Regions from separate parts of the Homo sapiens genome. Here regions 1, 2, 3 and 4 are each linked to region 5. Evidence: promoter capture Hi-C in 16 types of primary human blood cells and fetal thymus (Javierre and others, 2016). All regions are on one chromosome and are shown on one strand. The core of a region is centred on a gene start or on the middle of the fragment in contact, and the rest is flanking DNA. Distances in the headings are between cores, read along the strand shown. Region 1 has its middle 25 kb from the start of OR4N5. Region 2 has its middle 3.3 kb from the start of OR4N5. Region 3 has its middle 3.3 kb from the start of OR4M1. Region 4 has its middle 16 kb from the start of OR4K17. Region 5 holds the start of OR4K5 (olfactory receptor family 4 subfamily K member 5).

The links. The method cuts DNA at HindIII sites, captures the fragments that hold promoters and counts their contacts. A CHiCAGO score of 5 or more calls a contact.
Region 1: a contact is called between a fragment that was not itself captured here and the fragment with the promoter of OR4K5 in region 5, in 8 of 17 cell types (erythroblasts, total CD8 T cells, total CD4 T cells and 5 more). The highest score is 10.2, in erythroblasts.
Region 2: a fragment that was not itself captured here is called in contact with the fragment with the promoter of OR4K5 in region 5 in 5 of 17 cell types (erythroblasts, M2 macrophages, total CD4 T cells and 2 more); the score reaches 6.8 in erythroblasts.
Region 3: a fragment that was not itself captured here is called in contact with the fragment with the promoter of OR4K5 in region 5 in 8 of 17 cell types (activated CD4 T cells, M1 macrophages, naive B cells and 5 more); the score reaches 7.8 in activated CD4 T cells.
Region 4: a contact is called between a fragment that was not itself captured here and the fragment with the promoter of OR4K5 in region 5, in 4 of 17 cell types (naive CD4 T cells, total CD4 T cells, naive CD8 T cells and 1 more). The highest score is 6.3, in naive CD4 T cells.

Annotation. Positions count from the first base shown.
Region 1 is chr14:20,162,844-20,165,543 of GRCh38, reverse strand. No RefSeq gene overlaps it. Among named protein-coding and RNA genes, the nearest start is that of OR4N5, 25 kb to the right of the region's middle. The HindIII fragment of the contact is 153 bases long and covers 1,292-1,444 here.
Region 2 is chr14:20,134,195-20,136,894 of GRCh38, reverse strand. No RefSeq gene overlaps it. Among named protein-coding and RNA genes, the nearest start is that of OR4N5, 3.3 kb to the left of the region's middle. The HindIII fragment of the contact is 753 bases long and covers 929-1,681 here.
Region 3 is chr14:19,768,868-19,771,567 of GRCh38, reverse strand. No RefSeq gene overlaps it. Among named protein-coding and RNA genes, the nearest start is that of OR4M1, 3.3 kb to the left of the region's middle. The HindIII fragment of the contact is 157 bases long and covers 1,290-1,446 here.
Region 4 is chr14:20,093,351-20,096,050 of GRCh38, reverse strand. It overlaps the pseudogene OR4T1P. Among named protein-coding and RNA genes, the nearest start is that of OR4K17, 16 kb to the left of the region's middle. The HindIII fragment of the contact is 1,698 bases long and covers 452-2,149 here.
Region 5 is chr14:19,919,289-19,921,988 of GRCh38, reverse strand. It overlaps OR4K5 (olfactory receptor family 4 subfamily K member 5), which reads right to left and starts at 1,382. Exons shown (of 1, transcript NM_001005483.1): 1 at 411-1,382. The coding sequence starts at 1,382. The coding sequence ends at 411. All of the region lies in intron 2 of LOC124903278 (a long non-coding RNA gene), which reads left to right. It also overlaps a transcript of OR4K1 not described here. The HindIII fragment of the contact is 8,373 bases long and covers 1-2,700 here.

The DNA.
Region 1 (2,700 bases), core at 119-2,618, 240 kb before region 5:
CTACTGGCCTGGAGGCCAGTCCATACAACCCATTGCAACCACTGCTAACACAAGAACACAGAACTCAAGAACTTGAAGAGCATCTTGTGTCCACTGCTACTGCCATTGCCCATGCCACATTGGCTGCCAAGGAAGTCCAGAGCCCACTCACCCACCCAATACGCTGCTACTGCAACTGGCATTCAAGAAAGCCGTCCAGAGGCTCAAGAATCAGCCTGCCTGCAACTGCCAAGCAGACATGAGGAAACACTGTTCTAGATTACAAGAATAGACCCACTTAGCCCAACACCTTTACCATTGAAATCTGAAGATAGGGCCATCTGGCATTCCCCTCCCCAGCACACCTTCACCACAGCCCCGCAAATCACTGCACCATATTAAGCCAAGGAAAGCACACATACCACTAATGCTATTTATAGCCAAAGAAATTATACAGAATATTCACTACTGTATGTACCAAGAAGCTAAACCAAATGCCCCTAACCAAGCAACATCATAGTCATGTCTTTGAGTAAAAGGACCCTCCCCAGTGAAAGTAAATTTGAAAATAAGAAGTGACTATCACTCCAGATGTGCAAAAATCAATGTAAAGATGCAGGAAACTTTAAAAAGCAAGGTTATATGACACGCTCAAAGGAACACAATAATTCTCCAGCAATAGATTCTAGCCAAAGAGAAATTCTAGAAATACCATATCAAGAATTCAAAATATTGATTTTAAATAAACTCAGTGAGATGTAAGATAAATCTGAAAACCAATACAAAGAAATCAGAAAATGTATTTAGGAAATGAATGAGAAATTTAAAAAGATAAATATTAAAAAAGGATATTTTAGCACTAAAAACTTCATTGAAGGACATACAAAATACACTTGAAACCTTCAACAATAGGCTAGACTAAGCAGAATAAATAATTTTAGAACACAAAGATAGGTCTCTTGAAATAATCTAGTTAGATAAAAAATGAAGAAAAAGAATAAACAAAGCCTTTGAGACATTTGGGACTACATAAAGTAATCTAATGTACAAATTACTGGTATTCTTTAGGAGGAAGAAAGATATGAAGCCTTAGAAAATACAGTTTATAAAATAATAGATGAAAACTTCCTAAGTCTAGCAAGAGATTTAGACATCCAGATCCCAGAGTACCAACAAACCCCAGTGAATACATCACACACACACACACACACACACACACACACACACACAATCTGTCACCATGCGATATAATCATTAGACCGTCTAAACTCAAAATGAAAGAAAGAATTATAAAATCAGCAATAGAAAAGCTTCTTGTCACTTAAAAAGGAAGCCACTTTAGACCAACAACAATTTTTTCAGCAGAAACCTTACAGGTCAGAAGAGAATGAGATGGCATAACTAAAGTGCTGAAAGGAAAAAAAAACATGCTAGCCAAGAATTCTATATACAACAAGATCAAGCTTCATAAATGAAGGAGAAATAAATTATTTCCCAGTCAGGCAAATGGTGAAGGAATCTGTCACTAGACTGGACCTACAGGAAATTGTTGAAGAAGTTCTAAACTTGGAAACAAAAGCACAATACTTTTCATCATGAGAACACAGAGTATAAAACCCTCAGGTCTTATAGAAAAATCACACAATGGAGAAAGAAAGAGAAAAGAATCAAGTTGGCAACACTACAGACTACAGGTCATTATATAGTGAAAAAGGGATCAATTCAATAAGAAGATATAACAGTCCTAAATATATATGTACCCGACATTGGAGAACCCAGATTTATAAAACAAATATTACTAGACCCAAAGGAAGACATAGACAGTAATACACTAATAGTGGGGGACTTCAATGCCCTGCTCATAGCACTAGACAGATAATTGAGACAGAAAATCAACAAGGAAGTATTGGACTTAAATTGGACATTAGACCAAATAAGCTTAACTACTTTTACAGAACATTCTATCCAACAACTGCAAAATATACATCTCATCAGCACATGGAACATTCTCCAAGATAGACCATGTGTTGGGTCACAAAACAAGTCTCAACAAATTTTAAAATATTAAATAATATCAAAGTATGTTCTTAATATTTTATTCAATCACGGTTGAATGAAACTAGAAGTCAATACTAAGAGAAACTTTGGAAACTAAACAAATACATGAAAGATTAGGCAACATGCTCCTGAATTGGGTCAATGAAAAAAATTAAGACAGAGATGTTTTTAAAATTATAAAACCAATAAAAATGGAAACACAATATACCAAAGCCTGTTGGATACAGCAAAAGCAGTGGTAAGAGGGACTTATAGCATTAAATGCTTATATAAAAGTGTAGTAAAATTACAAATTAATAACCTGTCATACCTCAAGGAATTGGAAAAACAAGAACAAAGCAAGTGCAACATTAGTAGAAGGAAAGAAATTACAAAGATCAGAGCAGTGCTAAATAAAATGCAGTCCAAAAAATAGTACAGAGGATCAACAAAACAAAAAAAAGAAAACAGGGGCAGATGTGCTCAAGGCTTTGGGAGCCCACCTGTTGCATCACTGTGACCTGGATGTGAGACATGAAGTCAAAGGAGATATATTTTGGAACTTTAAGGTTTAATGACTGCCCTATTGGATTTTGGACTTGTATGGGGCCTCTAGCCCCTTTGTTTTGGCCAATTTCTCCCATTTCTCCCATTTGGAATGGCTGTATTTATTCAATGCCTGTA
Region 2 (2,700 bases), core at 56-2,555, 210 kb before region 5:
AGACTGTGGAAGAGGATTGAGCTGGTACAGTAAGGCACAGAAAGGAGACCATCATGATGAGGAAATGGTGAGCATAAGAAGGAAAAGTATAAGGCAACATTAGAGAGGTAGGCAGATGTTATCCAGCTCATGGCATTTGGAGGTTATTCTCAGTGTGTAATTATAATGTCAACAATTGTAATCTTCAGGTCGTTCTGGCTATTGTGTGGAGAATGGGTTTGAGGGAGGCAAGTATAGGAGCAAGGAGAACAGTTTGAAGATGTTGCAGTACCAAGTACAAAAGATGATGTTGGTAACTTTGCCTGGTGGAGAGTGGGAGGAGGAGACCGTAGTAAGAAGAATTCAGAGAACTTGACATGTATTTTGATGGTGGAGACATTTAGACTTGCTGATAGACACGATGTCTTAAAAACTCCTAAGATTTTAGATGAAATAGCTATGTATGGAAGTGTAATTTATTAACATTATGAAGACCCAAACAAGATAAGGTGGTGATTGGAAAAAAACTATGCTTTTTTAAAGGTACATTTAATTTTCACATAGGAAATATATTTGCATGGTTAAGCATTTTTAAAAAGTAGAAATGAGGCCACTTTTTTTGCACCTACCACAATTAGTTTATTCTCAATTTATTCAAAGAGATTCTTTAGAAAAAAAATACATGCTGAGCTATTCTATTAAAAATATTTGTTTATAATCCTTTAATTTGAGTGGCAGTTTTCTCAGACATAAAGCCACTGAGTTATATTTTCTTGCCTGAAAAATTTGTAGGTTTTGACCCAGTGCCACTTCCATTTTAAAAATGCTAGTTAATTATTTTCTGGAGAAATGTATGAGTGACAGTCCTATGATGTTTTGTCATCTACAAAATTGAAAATGTATTTCCTTACTTTACAAAAAGTTTTGGGTGTTTTTCATTTGGAAAGCTTACTACATAGGTAAGCAATTAGGGACTGATTATTAAAGGTCCTTGGTCTCAGGGATTTGACATGCCAGTGGAGTTGACATTCCAGCAACTAGATTGCTACTCAGTGAGAACCTTATAGGTAATACCTCTCTAAATCCTGGTAATGAAAACCTCTTTCTCTGGGATGGTTTTCATTTTCTTCTTTGTATGTTTCATGTTATTAATTTTAGTAAAATGAGATTTTAGTTTGTACTTTAAGAAATAGTATCACTAGTTTATTTTGAAAAATAAATTGTATCAATGTTTACAAAACCTAATAGCAAACAGTCATATTTTGCTCAGGATAGCAAACAAGGCACAAATAGGTGCCAAATAGATTCCAGTGTTTCAGACAAGTCAGTTCTTGATAGTGTAACATGATGTTTGATTAAAAATTTTATTTTATTTAATGGTAAATTACTGATATTGAACACAGATGGTAATCAGTAATTTAAAAAAAAGTAGAGGAGAAACCCACCCAAATTTAAAATCACATTGATAAAACTTAGAGAATTGGGGGAATCTTTGTTTTACAGGCAGGTTGACTGGCTAATTTGGAGGCAGCAATACAAATTAAAGGACTAGCTATGGGCTGTTCTCTAACATCTATACTTATTTGCATATTCTTGGGATGCAGGGTGGGTTCAACATAGGCAAATCAATAACTGTGATTCACCATATAAACAGAATTAAAAACAAAAATGGTATAATCATCTTAATGACACAGAAAAAGCTTTTGATACAGTTCATCATTGGTTCATGAGAAAAACACTCAAGAAACTAGGCATTTATAGAAGGAACATACCTCAAAATAATAAGATCCATTTATGTCATACCCACTGCCAACATCTTACTGAATGGGAAAAAGCTGGAAGCATTCCCCTTGAGAAATGGAACAAGACAAGGATGTCTATTCTCATCATTCCTATTCAACATAGTGCTGGGAAACTGAGCCAGAGCCATCAGGCAAGAGAAAGAAATAAATTACATCCAAATAAAAAAATAAAATATCAAATTACCTTTGTTTGGTGATTATATAACACTAAACATAGAAAACTCTAACTCCACTAAAAGGCTCCAAGGACTGATAAATGATAAATATACCAGAATCAGCAGCATTTCTATACAGCACTAACATTCAGGTTGAGAGACAAATCAAGAATGCAATCTCATTTACAATAGCTCTGCACACACACACACACACACACACACACACACACACACACAACCCAACAACATGTAAAAGCATATCTAACCAAGGAGGTGAAATATCCCTACAAGGAACTACAAAACACTATTGAAAGAAATCATAGCCTACAGAAACAACTGGGAAAACATTCCATGCTCATTGTTTGGAAGAATCAATATTGTTAAAATGGTCATACTGCTCAAAGTAATGTACAGATTCAATGCTGTTACTATCAAATTACCAATGCCATTCTACACAAAATTAGAAAAAAATCCTAAAATTGATATGGAACAAAAAAGATCCTGAATAGCTAAAGCAATTCTAAGCAAAAAGAACAAAGCTGGAGGCATCACATTACCTGACTACTATACTACAAGGCTAAAGTAGCCAAAAGGCATGATACTATGCAAAAACAGACACATAGACCAATGAAATAGGATAGAGAACTCAGAAGTAAAGCCTCACACATACAACCATCTGATTTTTGACAAAGTTGACAAAAGCAAGCAGTGGGAAGAGGACTCCCTATTCAACAAACAGTACTGAGATAACTGGCTAGCCATCT
Region 3 (2,700 bases), core at 119-2,618, 150 kb after region 5:
CAACTGTGGAGCCCAAAGAGGTGTTACAGCTTTTCCTCTGGGAGTCAAGGTCTGAGCCCCCAGGAAGTGTTACAGCTCTTGTTCGTTCTCACTGCCGACAGCTTCAGCAAATGGGGGTATGTCACAGCTCATTCAGTCCTGCTGCCCACAGCTCAGCAACTGGGGACGTGTGGCACCCAGCATTTTTTTTTTCACTCCTGTAGCTTGGTGAACAGGAGCGTGTCTTACAACTCTTTTCGCACCCACTGTTCAGTGGATTCCGGATTCTTGTCCCACAACCAACAGGAATGAAGCATATAGACACCGCAGAGTGAGCAAGGCTGATGAGATTTTTACTGAGCGGCAGAAAAACTCATGACAACAAGAGAGTAGCCAAAGTGGGTAGCCCTCTGTGTAAGAGTGGGACTGAAAGCAGAGAGCCATCTGTGAGGCTGAGTCTGGGGTTTTTATGGGCTCAGAATGGAGGAATGTGTGCTGACTGGTTCATGGGCAGGCCTGGAAAAAGCACCATTTAATTGACTAAAAGGCACTGAGGAAGTTCTCAGTTGGGTCGTGGACTGCACCTGGAACTGGTGGCTTGGTTTTCAGGCTTCATGTTGTCTTTGGCTTGAAGGTTGGGATTCACCAGGGACTTATACCTGTCTGCCTAGGAATCTGTCTGTCTCCTGCCATTATCAGCTGCACATACCACACTGCTTTCACTACCAAGGAACCCACAATGATCACTGCGCAAACTATAGTACTTAACTCCACAGAGGACTCCAGCAGGTTTAGTCACTGACAAAATCAACACCCAAAGATCACAAAGAAGCAGGAAAACATGACACCACCAAAGGAACAAAATTAATTTCTAGTAACCAACCCCAAAGAATTGGAGATCTATAAATTGCCTGGAAAAAATCAAAATAATTACATAAGGAATCTTGGGGAACTACAAGAGAACACAAATAAATAGTTTAATGAAATCAGGAAGACAATCCAAGAACAAAATGAGAAGCTCAATAAAGAGAGAAAATATTTTAAAAAGAACCAAACAGAAATGTTGGAGCTGAAAAATACAACAGCTAAACTAAAAAAAAATGTAATAGAGGCTTGAACATCAGACTAAATGAAGCAGAATAAAAAAATAAGTGAACTCAAAGACCGAGCATTTTAAATCATCCAGTAAGTGGAGATAAAAGAAAAAAAAGAATAAAACCTACAGAAGCCATGGAATACTATCAAGAGAGCTAACATTAGAATTATCGTAGGTTCAGAAGAAAAATAGAGAGAGCATTAGATAGAAAGCTTATTTAAGGAAATAATCATGGGAAACTTAGCAAATATCCGGAAAGAAATGAGCATCCACATGCACGAAGCCTAAAGTTCTCCAGTCAATTCAACCAAAAAAAGAATCCACAAACATACGTTAACATCAGCCTGGCAAAAATCAAAAACAGAGAAGCTTGTAAGCAGCAAGAGAAAAGAATCATGTCATATAAAAAAGGACCCAAATAAAGCTATCAGTGGATTTCTCAGCAGGAACCTTGAGGATCAGGAGAGAATGAAATAATATATTCAAAGTGATGGAAGAAAAATAAAACTGCCAACCAGCAATATTTTGCCAGCAAAGCTGTCCTTCAGAAATGAAGAAGATAAAGACTTTTTTAGAAAAACAAAAAAAGTTGAGTGAGTCTTCACTATTGCTTGCCTTACAAGAAATGCTAAAGGGGGATTTTTAAGATTAAATAAAAGGCAGCTAATTAGTAACATTAAAACATACAAAAATGTAAAACTAACTGGTAAAGTATATATATGGTTAAATTTAGAATATTCAAACACTATAATGGTGGTGGTGTGAATCACACCATCATTATAAAGTTATAAGATGAATGTATGCAAAATGACTATAGCTATAATAAATTCTTAAGACATACAAAAAATGTAAACTGTAACATCAAAAGCACAATGTAAGAGAAGGGAAGTAAAAGTACAGAGCTTCTTTAGCAATCAAAGTTAAGATGTTATCGTCTTTAAATGAATTGGTTAAACAATAAGAATATTTATGTAAGCCTCATGGCAACCACAAATTAAAAATCTATAGTAAATACACAAAAGATAAACAGAAAAGAATCAAAGCATACCACCAAATAAAATGATCAAATCACAAAGGAAAACAACAAAGGAGTAATAAAGGGATAAAGGATCTACAAAGCAACCAGAAAACAATTAATAAATTGACAATAATAAATCTTTACTTACCAACTATAAATAAGCAAATTTTGTTAATCAAAAGACAAAGAGTGGCTGAATTGATTTATAAAAATAAAATCCAACTTAATGCTGCCTACAAGAAACTCACTTCACCTTTAATAACACACACAGACTAAAAGTAAAGGGGTAAAAAACAAAAATATTCCATGAAAATGAAAATCAAAAAAGAGCAGTAGCAGTTACATGTGTATCAGACAAAATAGACTTTAAATACTGTCACAAGAGACAAAGAAGGTCATTAGATATTGATAAGAAAGTCAATTCATTGAGATAATAGAACAGTTATAAATATGAATACACCCAACATCAGAGCACCTAAATATATAAAGCAAATATTAACAAATCTAAAGCAAGAGATAGACTGCAATGCAATATTAATAGAGAACTTTAATATCCAATTTTCAACAATGGATAAATCATCCAGAAAGAATATTATTAAGAAAACAT
Region 4 (2,700 bases), core at 51-2,550, 170 kb before region 5:
TAATAATCCACTTTGGTGGTAAAAGAGAATCTGATACAAATGTGTCAAAATGTTTAAAAATTCAAAAAATTATGTGTTATGTCAGTATCTACATTTAACCTTATAATTTAAATAGTTGATAAGAAATAGATATAAATATGTCCAGTGATTCCAAGGGACCCAGTACCAATGTGTCTCAATGATTTTTTAAAAAACATTTAATTTAAAATATACCATACACATATGGCTATGAATACATCTTTAAGGCACCTTTTAGCTCTAGTTAACATAGCATACATATTACTTAGGAGACAGTGAGGAAATACCGGGTAGAATCCTCTAAGGGGTCAGTAGATGTTTGGGTAAAAGCAGAGCATTTTGAATTTGATGCCAAACAGGTCATAGAATGTGTATTTATTCTAATGTCCATGGACCGTAGATCTAACTTTATAATTTAGTACACTTTAAAGCTTTCTTTATGCAACTTAATCAGATTGAAAACTTTGTTTTGTTGTGAAGGGAATGCCTGGAAAATATATAGGCTTCTTAATTTATTCTTTACTCATGTGAATTGGCAGAATAATAATGTTCTTACTTGTTTCTGGAGAGATATATGAGAGAAAATATGAACAAAAACATGAAAGATTAAAATGTTCTATGTGTAATTTTTTGTCAGGTGAAATTTCTCTTTAGAGTGAAGAAGTGTATGCTTCATGTCAGTGGATTACAGTAACTATATGCATCTATATACTCATAAAAACTAGCCTGTCTGCCTTGTTAAAAAATAATAATCCTTTCACATATTAGGGGCACAAAAATGTAAGTGTGTGTGTTCATGCTTGTGGGTTTATAAGAGTTCACACAACTTTGTTTACATTTGGTCATTTAGAGAATTTGGCTGAAAGATTACTAGTTAAAAGTAGACAAATTTATATTTGATTTCTCTTATTTAAGGAAAGTCTTAGATACATGGAGTCTCTAAATATAGTTAAGAAGCCAGTTTTTCTAGTTAACTTTTTATTATATTTTGAAAGTAATTTATTAACCCAAATTTGAATTGAAAGTTAATGAAAATAACTATGCTTTTTTTTTCAAAAATATTTTAAGGTCGGGGTACAAGTGCAGGTTTGTTTCATAGGTGAACTTATGTCATGGGGGTTTGTTGTACAGATTATTCCATCACTCAGGTATTAAGCCTAGTACTCATTAGTTTTGTTTCCTGATTTTCTCCCTCCTCCCACCCTCCACCCTCCAAAAGGCCCAGTGTGTGTTGTTCCCCTCTATGTGTCCATGTGTTCTCTTTTGCTTTTAAGTGAGAACATGCAGTGTTTGGTTTTCTGTTCCTGTGTTAGTTTGCTAAGGATAATGGCCTCCATCTCCATCCATGTCCTTACAAAGGACATGATCTCATTGCTTTTTTATGGCTCTATAGTATCCTATGGTGTATATATACCACATTTTTTAAATCCCAGTCTCTCATTGATGGGAAATTAGGTTGACTCCATGTCTTTGTTATTGTCAATAGTGCTGCAATGAACATATGCATGCATGTATCTTTATAATAGAATGGCTTATATTCCTTTGGGTATATACCCAGTAATGGAGTTCCCAGGCTGATAATTATATTTTCAACAAAACCACACATGCCATAGAAATATAATAATGAAAAATTATATTTGATAATTTCAATATATGCAATATTATTTATAGAAATCAACAAATAAAATTAATATCAACATATTCTGAAACGTAATTTATATGGGTTCTGAACTAATATCCTGTCCTCATGATTGCTGATTAGAGAAGGTTTGTCTGGAGATGATGTGTTGGGTCCTCAGTTGATGTATAGATGCTTTCATCTCAGACTGTAAGTAATGGGGTTCAGTAAGGGTGTAACTGAATAAAACACAGAAAGAAATGTATCCACTGAAAAGCTCCTAAATGGCCAAGTGTAAATGTAGACACATGGCTCATAAAAATAGAGTGACTGCAGTGATATGAGCAGACAGTGTGGACAGAGCCTTGGAGAGTGCATCAGAGGATCGATGCTGCACAGTTACCAGAATAATAGTGTAGAAAATGAGCAAGACTATGAAGCAGATGAAAGACAACTGTCCACTTTTAGCAATTACCAGCAACTCCAGATCATAAGTCTCAGTGCAGGCAAGCTTCAGAACTAGAGGAAGGTCTCAAAATAAATTGTCCACCACACTGGGGCCACAGAAGGGCAAGGTGATAATAAAAACAATCTGGCTTATAGTATGCACAAAACCAACAGCCCGTGATAGCAGCACAGAGCCCATGAGTGGCCATGAGTACCCTGCAGTTCGTGATGGTTCTGCAGTGAAGAGGTCTGCATATTGCAATGTGCTGATCAACAGCCATAAATATGAGAAGAGTCATCTCACTGCCTCCTAAGAAGTGGAGATCTGAGCCATACAGCCCCATGAGGAAGTGGTTTTATTCTCCCTGAGAACGTCTGGACCATCTTAGAGATTGTGACTGTGGAAATAAACATACTGAGAAAGGAGAGATTTCCAAGGAGGAAGTACATAGGTGTTGAGCAAAGGGGAGGATTGGAGGTTACAGCGATTGCAGTGAGGTTTCCTGCCATGATTGCTGCATAGGCCAACAAAAATATTTAAGAAACAAAATTTCAAGTTCCCAAGTGCTGATGAATTCTAACAAAACAAACTCAGATTATTATTGAGCTGTTTCTTA
Region 5 (2,700 bases), core at 133-2,632:
ATTCAGTTTCAGATTCTTAAATACTATTCATCCACATAGAAGTTTTAGGCATGTTGTTAAGAAAACTCTTAAAACCTGACAAATGTTTGAATGTATGCCCACCAGAGAATTAGGTTCTCATTGATTTTTTTCTTGATATTTACATTTACCCCGTAACAAAAGCAGTAAATGCATACATATTATCCATCTAGTGCCCATATTTTATTTCTAGAACCAGTAATCTAAACAGAGATTTTTCCATGTTTTTATATTTAACTTTCACTTGATACCTAGAAAAAGACTTGTTAATATTCATTAAATGTTCTCTATATTATCTTCTTCACTACTTTCCCCACAATTGAGATACACCACAAAAATACATTAAAATATTAAACAGTGTATTGACCTGAGGAATTTGAAGGAGTTTTGTCTTAATGAAAGGAAGTTCTCACTACTAGTGACATTTCAGAAATTCTCCTTGGCCTCAGGTAATGGTTCACAATTTTCCTTACGGCAGCCTTCATATCCCTATTCCTTAGTGTATAAATAATGGGGTTTAGGACGGGGGTGAAAACAGTGTAAAATATGGCAAGAAATTTATCCAAAGGAGAGATGGTAAAGGGCCACACATAGATGAAGATGCAAGGTCCAAAGAATAATATTACTACTGCAATATGGGAAGCCAGCGTAGAAAATGCCTTTGCCATTGCAGCTGAAGACTTGAGCCAAACTGTAACAAGAATAATGATGTAGGAGCTGACCAAGAGAGAGAAAGTGCTTAGGGAAAGAATTCCACTATTGACCACAATTAGTATTTCAATGATGTAAGAGTCCAGGCAGGCAAGTTTGGTGACTCGAGGAAGATCACAAAAAAAGCTGTCTACTACATTAGGTCCACAAAAAGGCAGGTTCACAGTAAATGATAACTGGCTTAATGTGTGCACCAAGCTCACAGCCCAGGAGATCATTACCAAGACAGTGCATGTCCTTCGGCTCATGATGACCACATAGTATAAGGGTTTGCATATGGCTACATACCTGTCATAGGCCATCGAAACAAGTAGCACCATCTCCCCTCCAGTAAAAAGGTGAATAAAGAAAATTTGGGCTATGCAGCCACTGAAAGATATGGTCTCGTGTGCACTCAGAAAATCTGCAATCATTTTAGGGGTAGCAAAAGAAGCCTGACAAATGTCAACAAAGGAAAGGTTTCCCAAGAGAAAGTACATAGGGGAGTGCAGGCTGGTATCAGAAGTCACTGTGAGGATAATGAGAAGATTTCCCAGCACAATGACTGTATACAACACAGAGAAGAAACAAAAATAGAAAAGCTGGAGTTTTTGAGAACTACAGAGTCCCAACAGTACAAATTCAGACACCACTGAAGAATTGGACTTATCCATGGTTCCAAGCTGCAAACTTGTTCTGAAACAACTCTAAAGGAGGATAAATAGAAAGGAATCAGAATTTGAATTAAGAATACTTTTAAGGTGAGGGATTCTGAGATCTCAGATATAATGTGCATTTGCTGAATGCAAAAATTTTGAAGAGGCCATAATAGTATGTCTGGATAGGTGGATAATAGGAAAGAACTTATGTAAATGTCTAAATAATGCTTAATAATTTAATCAGTATAATTAGAACCCCTTGAGTTTTTGGATAGTCCTTGTCTTTTATACAGTAGGAAATGAGCTTACCCAGGAGCTGACTCATGACAACAAGACTAGAGGAGTGACCTAGAGTCCAGCTCCACAAGCCTCATAGGTTGACAAAAAGTGTTTACATTTGCTTGTCTTGTGGTCATCTTACATCATCAATTATACAACATTCTTAACTTTTGAAGAGATATTCATGGCTTGATTATTATTACATGATGTAAAGTCACACAGATTAACTTTTGGCCAATTATTTTATCTGAGCTTTAATTCCACACCTTAAAAAAGATGGGAGGTATAAAAATACCTACTTTACAGAAAACTTTAGAGTTTAAGCAGAATAACTCATGACATTCTACCATCAAAGTAATTGTATTGCAACATATGATCTTAATACATTAAACACCCTATATTAATAGAAATTTACCTTCGTGCTCCTGCAGGAGTCATTTACAATTAGGCAATTCCTGCTAAACAGATACTATTGAATGTATATTATACTGGCCTATAGTTCCAACTGAGTTTGTCAATTAGTTATCCAATAATTTCTTAAAACACATATTATGGCTTACCTGAATTATCTAAATCCTATTTTCTGTTGATTATCCAAGAGTGGAACCTAAATTTTTCATTTTCTTTGCCTATCAGAATTAGATTTCAGCCCACTTACATTCTCCCTGCTAGAGTTCTCCATGATCTTCTTAAAACATCTTTATAATTAATGCTGGAAAATGAAGTTTAAAAAAAATTTCTGGATAGAGAAGTAAAAATGATTATAAACCTCTCATGCTCTTGAAAATATCTAAAAATTTGCATCGTATGTTTTTCACCCTGTAAAGACATACCCCTACTGTATAAATCTAGTTCAGTTGAACTGGAAAAACTTTAAAGAAGTGCTGTTTTAGGAAACCATATTAGTTCTGACAATTAACTGTTGACAACAGTCATAGTAAGAGGCCTGAGAGAGTAATGATCTAATTCTAGTCCCATGTGAGAACATGAACATCTTTTTCTGCTAATTTATTTCATACAAGAAGCCAGAGTCTTTCCTTTGTCTCTAGGCTAC